Regions from separate parts of the Homo sapiens genome. Here region 1 is linked to region 2. Evidence: promoter capture Hi-C in human tissues and cell types (Jung and others, 2019). All regions are on one chromosome and are shown on one strand. Each heading gives the region's core, a stretch centred on a gene start or on the middle of the fragment in contact. The rest is flanking DNA. Distances are from core to core; before and after follow the strand shown. Region 1 holds the start of DOK3 (docking protein 3). Region 2 holds the start of NHP2 (NHP2 ribonucleoprotein).

Region 1 (5,542 bases), core at 2,221-4,720, 640 kb before region 2:
AGTCTTGCTCTGTCGGCCAGGCTGGAATGCAGTGGTGCGATCTAAGCTCACTGCAACCTCTGCCTCCCAGACTCAAGCAATTCTGCTGCCTCAGCCTCTCAAGTAGTAGCTGGGATTACAGGCGTGTGCCACCACACCCAGCTAATTTTTGTAATTTTTTTTTAGTAGAGATAGGGTTTCACCATGTTGGCCAGGCTGGTCTCGAACTCCTGACCTCAGGTAATCCGCCTGCCTCGGCCTCCCAAAGTGCTGGGATTACAGGTGTGAACCACTACGCCCGGCCCATTTTACATCTTAAAGTGTATCATCAGTGCTCTTTTTTTTCTTTTCTTTTTTTTTTTTTTTTTTTTGAGACGGAGTTTTGCTCTCGTTGCCCAGGCTGGAGTGCAATGGCATGATCTCGGCTCACCGCAACCTCTGCCTCCCAGGTTCAAGCAATTCTGCCTGCCTCAGCCTCCCGAGTAGCTGGCATTACAGGCATGCACCACCATGCCCAGCTACTTCTGTATTTTTAGTAGAGACGGGGTTTCTCCATGTTGAGGCTGGTCTCGAACTTCTGACCTCAGGTGATCCGCCCGCCTCGGCCTCCCAAAGTGCTGGGATTATAGGCCTGAGCCACCGCACCCGGCCACCAGTGCTTTTTAGTATACTCACAAGGCTGTGCACTGTTGCCACTGTCTAGTTCCAGAACTTTTCCATCATCCCACATGGAAGCCCTGTACCCATGAGCAGCCACTCCCCACTTCTCCCTTCCTCCAGCTCCTGCCAACACTCATCTGATTTCTATCCCAATGGAGTTACCTTGTCTGTACATTTCTTTCTTTCTTCTTTTCTTTTTTTTTTTTGAGACAGGGTCTCACTATGTTGCCCAGGCTGATCTTGAATTCCTAGGCTCAAGCAATCCTCCTACCTCAGCCTCCCAAAGTGCTAAGATTACAGGCAAGAGCTACTGTGCCAGGCGTTTGTTTGTTTTTATGGCTGAGTAGTATTCCATCTTGCGGACGGACCACGTTTTGCTTATCCATTTGTCAGCTGATGGCCATGTAGGCTGTTTCCACCTTCTGGTGGCTGTGAGTAGTGCTGCTATGGACGTTCATGTCCATGTGGGTTTTTTTTTAAGATAGGGTCTTGCTCTGTCTCCCGGGCTGGAGTGAAGTGGCACGATTACAGCTCACTGCAGCCTCGACCTCTGGGGCTCATGCGATCCTCCTGCCTCACATGTACATGTTTTGTTTGAACACCTGTTCAAGTTCTCTTGGGCACACACCTAGGAGTGGACCTGTGGGCCACATGGTAACTCTGTTTACCTCTTTGAAGAACCCCCAGGCTCACTTCCTTTTGACCCATCACAGACCTTTTGGGGCTTTACAAACATGTCCGGCTTAAACCCTCCAAAGCCTTCGCCTCTCACTCAGAACAAAACCACACACATGGCCTAGGGCATTTCAGCCGCTCTCCTAAGCTCTGTGAGTTGGCTTCCTCCTGCACTCCTTTCCTTCCAGCCACGTCGCCTTCTTTCTGCCCTTAAACACCCCACACTGTCCGGCCTCGGGGCCTCTGCCCACGGGACTCCCTCTGTTCACAACTCCCCAGGCTGCCCCTGTCCTCAGACCTTTGCCCAGTGGGTTCCTGTCATTCAGGGCCCTCCTCTGAGAGGCCTTCCCTGGCCACCCTGCCCGTCGCTCCCTCACTTCCTCCTGCTCCCCTGGCGGTCCATTTTCTCCATGGCACGCACGGCCCTCTGAGAGTCATTATAGATTTACTTTTCCCAGGCTTGTAGGTGCTCGGTGGAGCTTGCTGGGTGATGGGATGTGAGCGTGGAGGTGGACAAGTCGGGGGCAGGTGCCCCAGCCCAATCGCCCCCCTGCTCGCCGCACTCACCGGGAAGGCCAGCTGGCAGATGGGGCCCATCCAGGCCTGGCGGTGCTGAGCAGCCAGTAGATGGCTTCGCTCGGTGGTGGTGAGCAGGAAGGCACCGGTGTCCCGGGGGCAGCTCTCGCCGTCAGCCGGCAGCACGGACACACAGTCAGCCAGGCGGATGACCCGTCGCTCCCCTCGCCGGCCAGGCCCTGCCGACCTGTCACCCGCTGCTCCCAGGCCACCATCCCGGACCTCCCAGCTCTCCAGCCGTGCCACGCCTGATGGGCCTCCTGCATACAGCAGAGCCCACACCTTCCGCCAGCACTTCTGCGGGAGGGGAGCGGGAGGGTGAAGACCCTTGGGTGGCAGATTGTCCGTGCCACTTGGCTCAGCACAAGCTGCTCGGCAAACGCTCCCAGCCAGGAGCGGGCCTCTGCTCCCCAGTTTCTCAGGGAGCCAGGTAAGGAGGCCTTGGCTATGCTTGGGATTGGTCAGCCCTGGGTTCAAATCCCAGCCCGCTCTTTCCTAACTGTGACCTCCACAAGCATCAATGTCGTCTCTCAAAAGGCCATGAGAACTCGAGCTGGGACTGCTACTGGGTCATGTTTGTAAAGCATCCAGTGGCCGGGCAGACCACCAGACACTGCCATTATATTGGTTCCCTCTCACCCCCAAAAAGGGGCACTTGGGCCACAGGCCAAGAGCTGGGGTGGGAGGGAGGCCTCTGCCTCAAGCTGTTAAGGAAGGAAACATGCAAATAGCTTCGAGCAAAGGAAACTGACGGTTTATCTGCCTGGGCAGCAGCTGCAGCTGAGCTGCGGGGGTGTGGGGCTGCTGCCGAGGAGAGGTGACCCCCTGCCTCCTTGCTCCCAGGACAGTGCCGCTGCAGGGAGGGGCTCCACCCTTGAGGCCTCCTCCAGCTCAGCCCCTCACCCTATTTAGGGCCCTCGGTGGCACTATTTCATGGGTCAGAGGCTGTGAAGCTCTTCCCTGCTGGGAGGTTTGAGCCTTCGACCCTCTCCCACTCCTGTATTTCCCATCTCTCCCGGAGGCAGGGTCTGGCAGAGCCTGCTCAGCCCCTGCCGTCTCAGGCTGACACCCGCACTCCATTCCACTCCCCATACCTGGGTGGGATCCTCCACCCTGACTCCCTTCCCAAGTCTCCCAGGTCTGCCTGGGCTGTCCGAGGCAGGGGCAGAGGCTGCATTCTCCACCCACTGTTGGTCCTTGGCAGCTGCCTGGCAGCCAGGGGTCCCCACCTTGCCAAACTTGACATGCTGCTGGTAGAGGATGCCATCCTTGATAGGGGTCTCCAGAGGGTCCATGGTCACGGCCAGGAGCAGGGCCGCCGCTTCAAGACCTGGGGAGACTGATGACAGGCTGGACGGGAACTCCTCACACTTCCCCTTCTGGCCACTTCCCGTCCCTCCGTCTAGAGACAGCTGCAGGCCGGGGGGAGGGGAGCCTGTCTTCAGCTCAGGGGCTGGGGGCAGCATGTATTTCCTCCCTGGGGTTCTGGCTGCCCAAGGTGCCCACACCTACCTGGAGGGAGCCCCCGGCCACCTGAAGGCAGCCTTCTCACGCACCTGGTTCAGCTGGGCACGCGCGTCTGATCGCAGTCTGGCTCCCCGAGTCATGAGTTCCCGCCCCTCCCCCGTCCCGCCCCGGGCAGCTGCGCACCCTGGGCCTGACACTCCCTGGCCCTGCCTCCACCCAGGACCCTTCTCTAGCCAACTCCTGGCTTTCCCACTCGGCGTCCTGGTTTGAGCGCCTCACCCCATCTTGCTGCTTTTCTTTCTCCCTGAAATCTCTCTCGTGTTCACCTGCTCCTCTCCACCTCACGAGCCACTGAACATCACCAGCCTTTGGCATCCCCCCAGGGGCCACTGCCCCACTGGGCCTCCATGCAGCACTCTCCACAACCCAAGACCAACCTGTCTCTCCCCTTCCTGGGGTGCAGCCCAGGCTCCTCAGCCCAACACTCAGGGACCTGTGTGTTCTGGCCTGCATCTCCCCCAGGCCAGCCCCTCCAGGGCCCCCTCACCACTGTGCTGCCTGGGGCGGTTGGCCACCTCTTCCTCCTGGAGGCCTCCCTTGACCACTCCACGCTGTCCGAGAGCTCAAAGGCCCTCACGGTATACACTCACGCTGGGCATCCAGTCCACATGGGACCCACAGCCCTGAATGGCCCCAACCACGTGAGTGTGGGTGGCAGGTCCCAGGGGGCCCCGGAGAGGTCACATGTTCATTTAAAGCTTTGCTTCCTGCTGGGGGCGCCTTTTGTTGGCTTGCCTAGCAAGATGCCAATAGCGGGGCTGTGTGTATACCTTTATTCTGGAACAGCCTCAGGTCATTCAGCACCACCTCTGGGAGAGAACATGGAAGAGGATAAGGAATGCCATTTGGGAATGCACTTGGCCAGGAAATATGTCCTGAAGGCCTCCTGGCACCCAGCTCTGTGCCCACTGTGGCCCAAGCAGCCCTAAGCTCCGTCCACCTCAGACGCCACATCCTTTGCGTTCTCATCGCCATTTCAACAGTGAGGAAATCGGTGCTCAGAAAAATTAAGTAACTTGCCCAATGCCACATATCAAGTGACAAATATGGCTTGAGCAACCGCTGTCTCACTGGAATGAGCATGTGGCCATACATGCAAAGTGCCTGGCTCAGAGGAAGTGTGGCCGCCTGTGCCGTCCCTGCCTACCTCTCACCAGATGCTGAGATCCTGCCTCATCTGCTAGCGGTCTTGTGACTGCCGTCCACGTTTCTGCGTGTGCGTCTTTCTCTCCCCTCGCCTGACGGCTTCCCAGGCAGCCATCTCCCTGGCCCATCTAGGTCCTCACAGCTCAGCAGAGCTGGGCACAGAGCAGGCTTAGGGAGAGCTTGTGGCCTAAATGGCAGTTCTATGACATCTGCTGCCTCCTCAGTCAACGGAATGGAGGGCTCCCTCCAGGTGGCTGGCACAGGCAGGCAGTGGGTGGGGGTCCTGAGGCAAGAAGCAGCCTCCCAAGGGGCTTCAGGAGAAGTCCCTGAAACATCACAGCCCTGACAGGAAGAGTGGGCCTGAGAGCTATGACAGCTGGCCAGGGAGACCAGAGAATCCAAGCACTTCTCCTTGGCCCGCCAATGTGGTCCCTCCTTGAGTCATAAATTCAGACAACCCAGTGGAGAGACCCAGAGTCCCCAGAGGCGGGCACCAGCTCGGTGGCTCCTTCCACAGCCAAGTACCAGCAGGCCAGGTGTTGGCAGTGCTAGTGGGAGATGCTGGGGCCTTGCCTCAGAGGGGCTCCAGAGGTCAGAGGTGACGTCTGTCCAGGAACCAGGGGGCGGATGAGGTGAAACACAGAGGCAGGGCCAGGGCTGGGCTAGAGGTTTGGGCTTTAATGGCAGCTGGGGTAAAAGGAAACAAAAACAGTAATTCTGAAGAGCACAGGGAACAGGCAGCCAGGACCAGCCTGGCCCATCCCAGGCCAGCTGAGCTGAAATGCTGATTCTGTCCAGGGGGCTGCTGTATGTGTAGACTGGTGGCAGTCTTGGGGACTGAGGCCTCTTGGAGAGAAGGGAAGACTGTCGGCTCAGAAGTCCATGGAGCTGTGGGCCAGGTAGTCCTTGCGACCGATGTTGCTGACCTGCTTGGTCTGCATAGCCTCGAGTTTGGGGCAGTCAGTGATCCGATGACCCA
Region 2 (5,647 bases), core at 1,845-4,344:
TCCAACACTCCTGGCTCTTTCCCACACTCTCCTGCTATGGCAGACTATCCCAGACACCCCAGTGCTGAGCAAGGTCAGGGGGCCACGTGCTCCTTACCGTCTTAGAGGGGATATAGACATAGGGCAAATTTCGGTCCTCACACATGACTGGGAGATGGCAGTATACCTCAATGGGCAGTGTGTCTCCTGCCAAAACCATGATCCTGAAATGAGAGAAAACACTGTCATCTCTGGCTTGCTCCTTCCTTCTTTCAGTTTTAAGTGCTGCCCTGGGCTGGGTCTTAGGGATAGAGACAAAATTGTGTTTGGTGAGCACACTATTTGGGGGTGATCTCTACCTCTTGGCAACATACAGGTGCCACCAAAGTGATGTAGTGCTCGGACAGGTGAAGTACAGGATGGGTGCCAAGGTGTATGAGCTCAGCTCTCTTTGGAGAGTCAAAAAAGGGTTCAACCAGGAGGTGACACTTGAACAGCACGCTGATGGATGACTGTGTGGCAGGCAGCCCACGGAGGGGCTGGGGCGGGGGAGAGCATGTGGTGTGAGAATCAGAACGGCACCAGACACAGCCGAGAGACTGGCAGGGGACACCCCCAAGACCTTGAGTACCAGGCTAAGAAGCATGGGCTCTGTCCCAAGAGTGACAGTGAGGCAATGAAAGCTTGCCAGAGACTCAGCCAGGGTTCCTAGCTGGCCAGGTGTCAAGGCTGGGGGGCAAGGGCCTCAGGAGCCTAAGACACAGAAGGAAAAGTCTGCTCTCCCATGCTGGATAACAGGCGGACACACAAGGACAGAGCCCTCGGCTGAAAGAATGCTTCCGCACTCCTAGTGCTCCTCTGGGCCCTCTGCTGGCTCCCCTTCTGTTAAGCGCCTTTCACTGTGAGTGTTCCTCACAGCCTTGTCCTCGGCTGCCCTCTCCTCTCAGGACCTTCTTCCTGGCTGACCGGAGCCACTGCCATGGGGTCAGGTGCCATCTATGTGCTGAAAACTCCCAGATGTACTATCTCCAGCCTGGCCCTCTCTCTTCCATGCTCCAAACCCCTATAGCCATCTGCCTGTTTGACAGTTCTCCTGGTGTGGGGCGGGGTGGAAGTCATGTGTCTCTACAGCACCTCAAAAACTTACCCAGACCCAAATTTGTGATCTTTCTACACAAATCTGGTCCCCCTCCACTGTTCACATCTCAAGATTGGGCCCTCTGTCCCTCCAGCTGGGCATGTCAGAACCTAGAAGTCGTCAATACCTCCCCATTCTCCACATCTGAAAGTCCTTTCAAATCTGTCCCCTTTAACTCTGTCTCCACCATCACCTCTCCAGGACTACAGTAGTCTACTACCTGAACTTTCCCAAACCTACTCGTACCTCTCTAATCCTTTCTTCAATTGTCAGAAAAATCTTAGGGTGTAAAAAATAATAAAAATTATGTCACTTCCTGGCTTTAACCCCTAATAGCCTCCAAAGTGCTGAGTATAAAAACTAAATTTACTGTGTCCTACAAGGCCCCCTAAGAAGGTAGCACTTCTGCTCACCAGACCCTCTCCTGCCCAGAGGCCCACTCTTTCTTCTGGCAGAATCCTCCCACCCACCCCCCAATTAATCCCTGTGTCTTAAGACCTCAGCTCAAATGTGACTGCTGAGGGAAACTTCCCCAGATGCGCCCTCCCCAGCTAGGTTAGATGCCGTTGAGCATCAAGTCTGCCCAACATTATTGATCTCTTGAGCACCTACAGTTTCACTTCTTGGGATAAAGCAAGGAGGCCCTGTTCTGAAGGAGCTTACCATCTGGCCTGAGAGGGTGATAAAGGGAAGAAAAATGTAAACAAGGTTCAAACTTTGATAAATGCCATTAAGAAAAGTGGGGTGATGAAGTTATCATTGCACTCTGTTATTTTCCTTCATGGCTATCTATCACAACGTGTAATTAGTTGTGTGTGTGTCATTATCTGATGAATGAATGTCACTGTTTCCCCCATAACACAGTGCCTGAAAAAGAGTACATTCAATTGTTAAGGCTGCCAGGCGCGGTGGCTCATGCCTGTAATCCCAACGCTTCGGGAGGCTGAGGCAGGAGGATTCCTTGAGCCCAGGAGTTCAAGACCAGCCCGGGCAACATGGCGAGACTCCTCTGTCTCTGCAAAACAACAATAACAACAGCCAGGCGTGGCGCAAGCCGGTGGTCTCAGCTATTCGGGAGGCTGAGGTGGGAGGATCGCTTGAGCCCAGGGGGACGAGGCTGCAGCGAGCTGTGATCGCACCACCGCACTCCAACCTGGGTGAGAGCTAGACCCATCTCAAAAACAAACAAAAACGTTAACGTTCAGTTCCTTAAATACAGAGCCGGAGAGGGGTCATCCCTAGGACTGAGATTCAGGGCTGAGAGGATTAGGGCGGGGGCCGGAGGTAATCTGAGGCAAGGAGCGGAGCCCGGGGAGGAGGGTCCCTGAATTAATGAAGGTGGGTTTACTCTAAGGGACTTTGCTTACACAATTCGCTTCACTTTGGAATTCACTTTGAGCTGGTATACGTGGTGTACCGGTATTGTCGTACCGGTATTGTACCAAAGGGACTTTACCGACTGCTTGATTGGCTTCTGTATATGGGGCTAGGTCAGAGTTAACCTTTTTACTGCGCGCCTACTAAGTAGAGATTTCTCCGTTAACGTTTAGAAATGCAAAATCCAGAGGAAGGAAGGTTCTTACCCTTTTTCTCCTTTGTTGACAAATTTCTGAACCTCTTTCACCCCGCGCCGAATCTGCTTCTGCTTCACCGCTGCAACGACAGAAGAGTCGGTCGGGGGCCTCGCTCAGCCACCCGCGCACCCATCCCACCCGCGCACCCATCCCGGCCACGCCGCCGTCCGCCTCACCTTTCTTGATGCATTTGTAGAGCTTCCGCGTGAGGCGGCGAGAAGCCAGGGGCTGCGCGATGGGGTTCTGGTTGACCAGCAGCTCCTGGTAGGTGCGCTCCCCGGAACACGCCTCCGCCTGAGCCTCGGGCCCGTCGGGATCTGCCTTTATTTTGGTCATCGCAGCGGCCGCTGAAACCTAGTCCCAGGGAGGCGAGCCCACGCGGTCCACAGCTTTAGGCATCACTTCCAGGTCATCAGCTGCGCGAGAAGCCGCCGTACAACACGGCCAATCAGGAAAGGAAGTCTCCGACTCAGCCCAATCGTTGACGCCCAGCTTCGTAACTACGGAGAGCGGAGAGGGGCGGAGTCATGGTCCTTAAGGCGGGGCCATCCCCGGACCAAGGGACTGGGCGGAACCGATTAGGGCGGAGCGGAGGGAATGTGAGGCAAGGGGCGGAGCCCTGGGAATCGGGGCCGGAGAGGGCGGGGCTCTGGGTGCTGGAAAGGCTGCCTCGTTTTTTTTCTTTTTTGAGGCAGAGTTTCGCTCTTATTGCCCAGGCTGGGGTACAGTGGCGCAATCTCGACTCACTGCAACCTCCGCCTCCCGGGTTCAAGCGATTCTCCTACTTCAGCCTCCCGAGTAGCTGGGATTGCAGGCATGCGCCACCACGCCCAGATAATTTTGTATTTTTACTAGAGACAGGGGTTCTCCATGTTGGTCAGGCTGGTCTTGAACTCCTGACCTCAGGCGATCCGCCCGCCTCGGCCTCCCAAAGTGCTGGGATTACAGGCGTGAGCCACCGCGCCCGGCCTAAGGCTGCCTCCTTTCTTGCATAATTTTTCTTTGTTTTCTGACCCCTGGACCCGGCTGCGCAGGTGTGAAAGATACAGAGCAAGGGATGACCCCACTGACCTGCGTCTGCACCGCTTTTCCACAGATAGCGTGTGGCTCACTCTCATCCCGCAGGGTTCCGTTTCAGTGTTTCCCATGGGAGAGGTTTCCCTGGTGATTTTATCTAAAATTGCCGTCCCCTCTCTCTCCAAACCAGCATCCCTTCACCCGCTATTTTCCCGCAGTTCTTACCATTGCCTGACGCTACACATGCAGAGGGCCTAGCCGAGAAGCCAGCCGGGGCTGAGGGAAGGACGGCTCCAGCGAAGCCGGGAACAGCGGAGGGAAGGCTTTGGGGACTGAGCTCCCTGCCGTGCAGGGTGAGAGCTATGAGGAGCTACCCTTTGGACGGGTCTGTAGAAGGTAAAGGGACAGAGCTGCCAGGGCGTGGGGGGCGGTGGCAGGCCGAGATCCAGTGGATCTTGGTATCTCTGATTAGCCTCTTCCACTATATTTTGGAACTCTGGATGGATATTAATTAGATAATCGCTGCAAATTACTAATTTGTAATACTAATTACCTTTGATCCTGATGTGGCAGGCCTGCCATTTTTGTGTTGCTGGAACAGGCCAGTAAGTAGAAACTTAGAAGTGTTCCGGTAGTTGTGGGTGGGAACACAGGTCAGTTAAACCAACTTAAAAATTGGCCTTTCCCGGGTGTGGTGACTCGTGCCTGTGGTTCCAGCTACCCGGGAGGCTGAGAGGGGGCTCGCTTGAGCCCAGAAGTTAGAGGCTTCAGTGAGCCATGACTGCACCTGTGAATAGCCACTGCACTCCAGTCTGGGCCACCCAGGAAAATCTTGTCTCTAAAACAAAACAACAACAACAAAAACCTTGTAACTCTGAACTAAAGTGCAATAAATTTTGTTTTGCATTAAATAAAAACAAATAGGCTGGGCGCGGTGCCTGTAATCCCAGCACTTTGGGAGGCCGAGGCGGGCAGATCATGAGGTCAGGAGATCGAGACCATCCTGGCTAACACGGTGAAACCCCCGTCTCTACTAAAAATCACTCTGTCCAGCAGAGTGATGGAGAATTTCACTCCTGAGAACCCAGTTCAAACAAATTCAAACAAATGGGCTCGCTTGACTGACCTCACTCAGAGCCTCGGTTGTGAAGTCCCTTCAGCTCTTACATGGAAGGAAAAAGAAAGTTAACATTTATGTGGCGAGCATATTATATACAATATCTCATTCAGTGCTCACCAAAAAATACCTCTATGGTAAAGGTAAAGACTTTACCATCCTTTTACCAGGAATATATAACTTTATATTCACAATTTACTGACACACATAAAGATGAATAGTTTGGTACAGCTCACACAAAGCTGGATTTGAACCCAGGTCCACTTGTCTCCAAGCCCAGACTTTACCCATACCTGTGATTTGACATTTGACTTCAGCTCAAAAGGATACGTAAATAGTGAAAGTGTAGGAACCTCAGCTTGGCCCAGGTCACACGTGTCTGCATTTTGAGCCATAAGACAATGAAGTGCTGAGAACAAATATGTCTTCAGAAAACCACAGTGTTTTCTTTTTCTTTTTTTTTCTTTTTTTTTTTTTTGAGATGGAGTCTCGCACTTTGGCCCAGGCTGGAGTGCAGTGGCACCATCTCGGCTCACTGCAAGCTCCGCCTCCCAGGTTCACGCCATTCTCCTGCCTCAGCCTGCCAAGTAGCTGGGACTACAGGTGCCCACCACCACATCCGGCTAATTTTTTGTATTTTTAGTAGAGACGGGGTTTCACTAGGGTTTCACCGTGTTAGCCAGGATGGTCTCGATCTCCTGACCTCATGTTCTGCCCGCCTCGGCCTCCCAAAGTGCTGGGATTACAGGCATGAGCCACCGCGCCCGGCCCCCTTTTTTTTTTAAGACAGAGTCTCCCTTTGTCACCCAGGCTGTGGCATGA

The links. Contacts are between HindIII fragments. The study calls those that stand out against the background at their distance.
Region 1: the fragment with the promoter of DOK3 here is called in contact with the fragment with the promoter of NHP2 in region 2 in 1 of the 25 tissues and cell types used here (lymphoblastoid cells).

Annotation. Positions count from the first base shown.
Region 1 is chr5:177,506,356-177,511,897 of GRCh38, forward strand. DOK3 (docking protein 3) reads right to left here and starts at 3,471. Exons shown (of 6, transcript NM_001308236.3): 1 at 3,403-3,471; 2 at 3,120-3,302; 3 at 1,882-2,187. The coding sequence starts at 3,185. DDX41 (DEAD-box helicase 41) reads right to left here. Exons shown (of 17, transcript NM_016222.4): 17 at 5,222-5,542. The coding sequence ends at 5,436. RefSeq lists enhancers at 1,727-1,836, 1,857-1,906, 3,727-3,876 and a silencer at 3,457-3,596. The HindIII fragment of the contact is 13,536 bases long and covers 1-5,542 here.
Region 2 is chr5:178,150,791-178,156,437 of GRCh38, forward strand. NHP2 (NHP2 ribonucleoprotein) reads right to left here and starts at 3,095. Exons shown (of 4, transcript NM_017838.4): 1 at 2,868-3,095; 2 at 2,701-2,770; 3 at 98-203. The coding sequence starts at 3,027. RefSeq lists an enhancer at 162-663. The HindIII fragment of the contact is 35,391 bases long and covers 1-5,647 here.